Regions from separate parts of the Homo sapiens genome. Here region 1 is linked to region 2. The links are contacts of gene promoters, found by promoter capture Hi-C in blood cells and fetal thymus (Javierre and others, 2016). All regions are on one chromosome and are shown on one strand. The core of a region is centred on a gene start or on the middle of the fragment in contact, and the rest is flanking DNA. Distances in the headings are between cores, read along the strand shown.

The links. The method cuts DNA at HindIII sites, captures the fragments that hold promoters and counts their contacts. A CHiCAGO score of 5 or more calls a contact.
Region 1: a fragment that was not itself captured here is called in contact with the fragment with the promoter of LPIN2 in region 2 in 5 of 17 cell types (naive CD4 T cells, neutrophils, naive CD8 T cells and 2 more); the score reaches 6.0 in naive CD4 T cells.

Annotation. Positions count from the first base shown.
Region 1 is chr18:2,742,219-2,745,580 of GRCh38, forward strand. It overlaps SMCHD1 (structural maintenance of chromosomes flexible hinge domain containing 1), which reads left to right. Exons shown (of 48, transcript NM_015295.3): 29 at 1,543-1,710. Among named protein-coding and RNA genes, the nearest start is that of SMCHD1, 88 kb to the left of the region's middle. The HindIII fragment of the contact is 4,572 bases long and covers 1-3,362 here.
Region 2 is chr18:3,011,536-3,014,480 of GRCh38, forward strand. It overlaps LPIN2 (lipin 2), which reads right to left and starts at 1,609. Exons shown (of 20, transcript NM_001375808.2): 1 at 1,552-1,609. RefSeq lists a silencer at 1,050-1,999. The HindIII fragment of the contact is 8,581 bases long and covers 1-2,945 here.

The DNA of each region.
Region 1 (3,362 bases), core at 735-3,234, 270 kb before region 2:
GCTCTTTACTCTCCAGCCAAGTGGACTTTTTTTCTACTTCTGTCTTTCTGTAATTGACGTATACTATCTTGGCTCATTTTCGGAATTGTGTATTTAATTCTGTTTGTACCCATCTACAATTTGTAAATGCAATTTCATTTCTAAGATTTGAAATAAAACCAGAACAACTTCCAACATGACTTTAAAAAGAAATCACCCCTTCAGAAGGGCTTTTGGTTCAGAAGAGCTATCAAATTTGGAACCCTAAGATAGACTTTGCATATTTTGAACTTCAGTACATTTTACTAAGGAATATCTATTTAATTAGTTTTCTGAATATTGAAAAATTCTTCTGTGCTTATTGGGCTTTTCGGAGAGATTAATTTTGATTATTTTACAGTGACTTTTTACATAAAATATTCTGTTCTACAGATCATTGTTTGAGAACATAAAACATGAAGTTTTCTCTCTGATTTATTTATTTAATTTTTCGAAACAGGATCTCACTCTTTTGCCCAGGCTGGAGTGCAGTGCAGTGTTGTGAATATGGCTCACTGTAGCTTCAACCTCCTGGGCTCAAGTGATCCTCCCACCAGAGCCTCCCAACTAGCTAGGACTATAGACGCATGCCACTACACCTGGCTAATTTTAAAATTTTTTGTAGAGACGGGGTCTTACTGTGTTGCCCAGGCTGGTCGTGAACTGGGCTCAAGGGATCCTTCCACCTTGGCCTCGTAAAGTGCTGGGATTATAGTCAGGAGCCACTGTGCCTGGCCTGATTTTAAAATTTTGCTGAAATATTGTTACAGCAGCCCAGAAACAAAAATAAAATTTTGATGAAGTAGATTTGTACCTAGCAGAAATTTAAGATGAATAAATCATCAAGGGTCACCATTAAAATACAAATACTGCAGCACTCACGCCAGTGTGGAATCATTCAGTCATATTGCAAAGATTATAGGCTAGTTTCATTGATTCTCATTAATATGATGTGTTACGCATTATTCTAAGTAATAGAGATTGAGTAGTGACAAATCAAAGCTCCTGACCTTGTGGAAATCATCTTGTCATGGAGAGAACATGCAATAGATAAGAAATAAGAGGTAAGAAAAATGAAGTAAAGAAGGGGATAGATAGTATGCCAATAAGTAAGGTGATCAGGGAAGAGCCTCTTATTAAGGTATCATGTACAAAAATCTAAAGACAAACAGTGTGTATATCTGGTAAATAATGTTGCAAACAGAGGGAAAGAACAAGTATAAAAGCTATTCAGGTAGCAGAAAGGAGGAAGTATAAAGAAGAGGGAAATTAAGAAAAGATAAAATAAAGAGACATTGCCAGAACCTTTTAGATCCCCTACCCCTTGAAAGAAAAAATTCAGTTTCTCCTCTCTTGAAAATAAAATGCATGGCATGCCATTATTGCATGGGTGCTATTTATTTTCTGTCATGTTACCAAGAAACACATCTGTACGCCCATGGGTTAATGACAAAACATTTTATTTTGTTTTTCTGAACACTAAGTGATACCCCCTGTCTTTCTCAATGTACTTTTCCTCACTAGGAAAACACACAGAGTATAAGTGTAAGAGGCATCAAATTTATTCCAGGTCCTCCTGGAAATAAGGATCTTTGTTTTACTTGGCGTGAGTTTTCTGACTTTATTCGAGTGCAACTAATTTCTGGACCTCCTGCTAAACTTCTCCTTATAGACTGGCCAGAACTAAAGGAGGTAAGTCACTTCATGTCTTCACTGAAAGAATTTAATATCATATGGCTTATTACTTTCAGATTGTCAGTGAATCAGAATAGATATATTTTGTTGCTGAAGTAACAACTAACAGTTGTTAACAGTAAAAATAACAAAAAAGCAAGGTAATGTGAGTCTTAATACTTTGTTATTTGATTCATCATTGTGTCCTCATTTGTTAAAAATAATGAGTGTAATAATTCAGATCTTAAAAACTACATTACAGAGGATTTCAAGCATGCATAAAAATAAAAAGAATAGTGTAGCAAACTCCCATGTGCCAATTACCTAGTTTCTACAGTTACTGATTTTTGCCAATTTTGTTCTTTGTTTTCTTATACTAATCTAATAACTTTTTATTGGAGTTTTAAAAAGCATATCTCAGACATCAAGTCATATCCGTAAATACTTCGGTATGCCTTCCTATGCAAGTACTTAAATTTTAAATACTAATTTTGTAAATGTCTGTCAAATCTGTTTTTTTTTTTTACTGAAGTTTCAGAATTCTAATTTGATTGACAGACAAAAATTGTACATATTTATTGTGTACAACATATTTTGAAATATGTATACATTGTGGAATGGCTAAATCAAGCTAATTAACGCACATATTCTCATACTTTTTTTTGTGGTGAAAACATTTGAAATCTATTCTCTTAGCAGTTTTGAAGAATCATCTTGTCACGGAAAGGACATGCAATAGATGAAGCAGTTTTGAAGAATAGTAATATACTATTAACTGTAGTCATCATCATACAATAGATCTTTTGAACTTAATACTCCTAACTGAAATTTTGTATCCTTTGATGGAATTCTAGTTTTAAAATGTCCAGATTCTGACATTTGCTTATGGAATAGCAGGGCTTTAATGGTTTTTTTGTTTGTTTTGTTTTGTTTTGTTTTTGTTTTGAAAGAGTTTCACTCTTGTTACCCAGGCTGGCGTGTGGAATGCATTGGCACGATCTTGGCTCACTGCAACCTCCACCTCCTGGGTTCAAGCGATTATCCTGCCTCAGCCTCCCAAGTAGCTGGGATTACAGGCATGTGCCACCATTCCTGGCTAATTTTGTATTTTAAATAAAGATAGGGTTTCACCTGTTGGCCATGGTTGGTCTCAAACTCCTGACCTCAGGCGATATGTCCGCCTTGGCCTCCCGAAGTGCTGGGATGACAGGCATGAGCCACTGCACCCGGCCAGGACTTTTAACTGTTGATGTGATAGCTAACTTTGAAACAAGTTTTATTTATTTTTAATAGAGACTGGGTTTCACCATGCTGACCAAGCTGATCTTGAGCTCCTGGGCCCAGGCAATTCTTCTGCCTCATTCTCGCAAAGTTCTGGGATTACAGGTGTGAGCCACCGTTCCCAGCCCATGTTTTCTGTAAAAGAAAATGAAGTCACACAATCATGGTAGTAGGTGAATTTATCTTAGTAAAGGGGCAGGTCATCTAAGAAAGGTTAACATGCTCATGCCTTAGTTTGAGATTGATCTTTTTCACTTGTGAGTTTAAAAAGCAGATAAACTGGTTGTGACAGTGTGCTTTATAAAACACAGTTTTTAGAATAATAGTGTGTTGACTAAAGGGTTTTACTGAAAAGCCAGTGCATTTTTTTTTCTGGGAGCACTTACAAA
Region 2 (2,945 bases), core at 359-2,858:
AATTAGCTGAGTGTGGTGGCTCATGCCTGTAATCCCAGCTACTCGGGAGGCTGGGGCACAAGAATCGCTTTAACAGAGGAGGCAGAGATTGCAGTGATCGGAGATCGCGCAACTACACTCCAGCCTGGGCGACAGAGTGAGACTCTGTCTCGAAATAAAAGAGATACTTCAGTCTGACATACCACAATCAACTACAATGTAATTGGAGGGAAGAGCCGATGTTGGACGGCTATCACACGTGGCTTCACACTGTTCTTTTTCTTCTCTGGCTGGGTACGGCCTGAGGATGACTGCCCTCCAACAACTGAGGATGCTGCAGGAGGACCAGCCCAGCACCTGTCTCCATCCCCTGCACTGTGTGGCCGGCTCTGCCGCTTCTCCCCCGCTTCAGCATCACCTGCCACTTCTTCTCAATCTGAAGCCACTAAGAACGATCAACACCAGACCGTTAAAACATAAACCAGTATGGGCCACTAAATAATTCGTAAATATTTCAAAATGTATTTCAAAACCGACTTTGTATTGTCAAAACATTATAATCTAGCCAGGCCAAGTTTTAATAAACAGTAACACCCATCATCACTACTGGGTAAAGAACTTCATTCAACAGGACCTACCTTGACACCAAGTCTAGAGCCTCGTTTTCAATTAAAAAAAAAATGGGTAAGCCCCAAATGTGCATTAAAAATTAGTTTGGCCATTTACTAAGTAGTCCTTCAAAGCATTTCCAAGTATTCAGAGTTCCAGTACTTTTCGGAAAGGAAGGGTGATCTTTCTGGTACTGGTTTGCATAATTATGCCTAAAAAATGTCATCTTGAATTTTCAATGAAAAGAGTCTTAAAATGTTCAGGCGAGTGGAGAAAATGGTGATCCGCTGGCGTTAGAAGTGGACAGAGAGGCTCTCAGTACAAACTGTATCTGAACGTGTTCCTCACAAATTAAGATCTGCACCGGGGGCTGGGGGGCTTTGAGAAAACTAACCACATTTGAATCCGGTCCACACAGCTTGAAGGCGGAGGTACGGGGCAAAGCGCGGCGGGGAAGAAACACCAGCAACTCGGCGGCCCCCGCCTCGCCGCAGATCACGTGCCCGGCGCCCCCTCCCGCAGGGCCGGGGGCGGGATGGAGACGCGGCCTCCCGCGCGCCTTCCGCACTCCCCTCCGCGCCCCAAACCCAGGGGTAGGGGTGGTCTCGGGTAACCATCCCCAGGGCGGCGGCGAGGGAACTGCGCGGGTTCAGAGTCCTCAGCAGCCACCACTGACGCCCCGACGCCCCCGGCTCCCCGCGCACCCCGCCGGTCCGTCCTGCGGCGGCGGCGGTAGGGGCCGCGTCTACGTGGCGCGGTCGCGGCGAGGCGGGGACTGGGACGCGAGGACCGGGAAGCGGGGACCGCGGCGCGAGGAGGGGCGGCTCAACCCGCGCCGCCCCGGAGGGTCCCGGCCTCCGGCAGGACAGCCCCGGGCCCGCGCCAAGGGAAGCCCCCAGGCGCAGACACTCACCGCCAGCCCCGGAGGGACGCCTGCGAGGAGCCCGGCCCGCGCCCACTTACCCACAGGGGCTCCGCTCCCGGCCAGCGGGCGGCTGAGGGCAGGCGGCGGCTGGACTGCGACGGCTAGGACCCGCCGGGGAGGGAAGCCGAGGGGGCGGGGCCGGTCGGGGGCGCGCGCGGGGTCGGAGCGCCCGCAGCCGCCGCTGCCTTGGAAGCCGCCTGGGCCGCAGCTGAGTCGGGCGGCCCTCATGAATGGGACGCCGCGGCTGCGGCGGCCGAGCCGGCAGCTGGCGGGCGGGCAGCGCGCAGGCCCCGCCCCAGCCACGTGACGCGCGCTCCCGGCCGCGCGCCGCGCCCCCGCCGCCGAGCGCCAGGCGTGCGGCTTCTCACCGCTCCCAGTCCCTGGGCTGCGCGCCCGGGCCCCTGGCCAAGTGAGGGCGGGGCCTCGATTTTCTAGTGCCTCGGGCGACAGGAGCCTTACTTTGTTTTAAAAAAAAAAAGTTTCTTCCGGTCCCCATGGCAACCCTGCGGCAGGTCACGTGGGACTGAGAGCCCAATTGCCAAAAAGGAATGTTAAAGTGCAAAAAAAGTCTAGGGAATGAATGTTTTATAATCCCCTTTTGATCACTAGTAGCACATCTCCTTTGCTTACTTACATCTCCACCGAAAAAAAAAAAATCCTATTACACAACTCATTTTTAAAAATATGCCGGGGTTCTGTTGTTTTTTGTTTATTCTTTTTATCGCTCTGTTACCCCGGCTGGTCTCCAACTCCTGGGCTCAAGCATCCCCGCACCTCGGCCTCCCAAAGTACTGGAATTACAGGCATGAGCCACCGTCCCCAGCATTAAAATATACTTTTTAAGAAATGGGTGGCTCACGCCTGTAATCCTAGCACTTTGGAAGGCCGAGGCAGGCGGATCACTTGAGGTCAGGAGTTCAAGACCAGCCTGGCCAACATGGTGAAACCCCCGTCTCTACTAAAAATACAAAAAACCAGCCGGGCGTGGTGGCGCGTGCCTGTAATCCCAGCTTCTCAGGAGGCTGAGGCAGGAGAATCAGTTGAACCCGGGAGGCGGAGATTGCAGTGAGCCGAGATGGCGCTATTGCACTCCAGCCTGGCGACAGAGAGACTCCGTCTCAGAAAGAAAAGAAATGGGGCCCGGCGCGGTGGCTCACGCCGGTAATCCCAGCACTTTGGGAGGCCAAGGCGGGTCGATCGCCTGAGGTCAGGAGTTGGAGACTAGCCTGGCCAACGTGGCAAAACCCCGCCTCTACTAAAAATACAAAAATTAGCCGGGCATGTTGGCTGCAATCCCAGCTACTTAGGAGGCAGAGGCGGTAGAATCACTTGAACCCGGGGGGCGGAGGTTGCAGTGAGCAGAGATTGCGCCACTTCACTCCAGCCTGGGAGCGAAACTCTGTCTCAAAAAAAAAAAAAACAAAAAAAACTG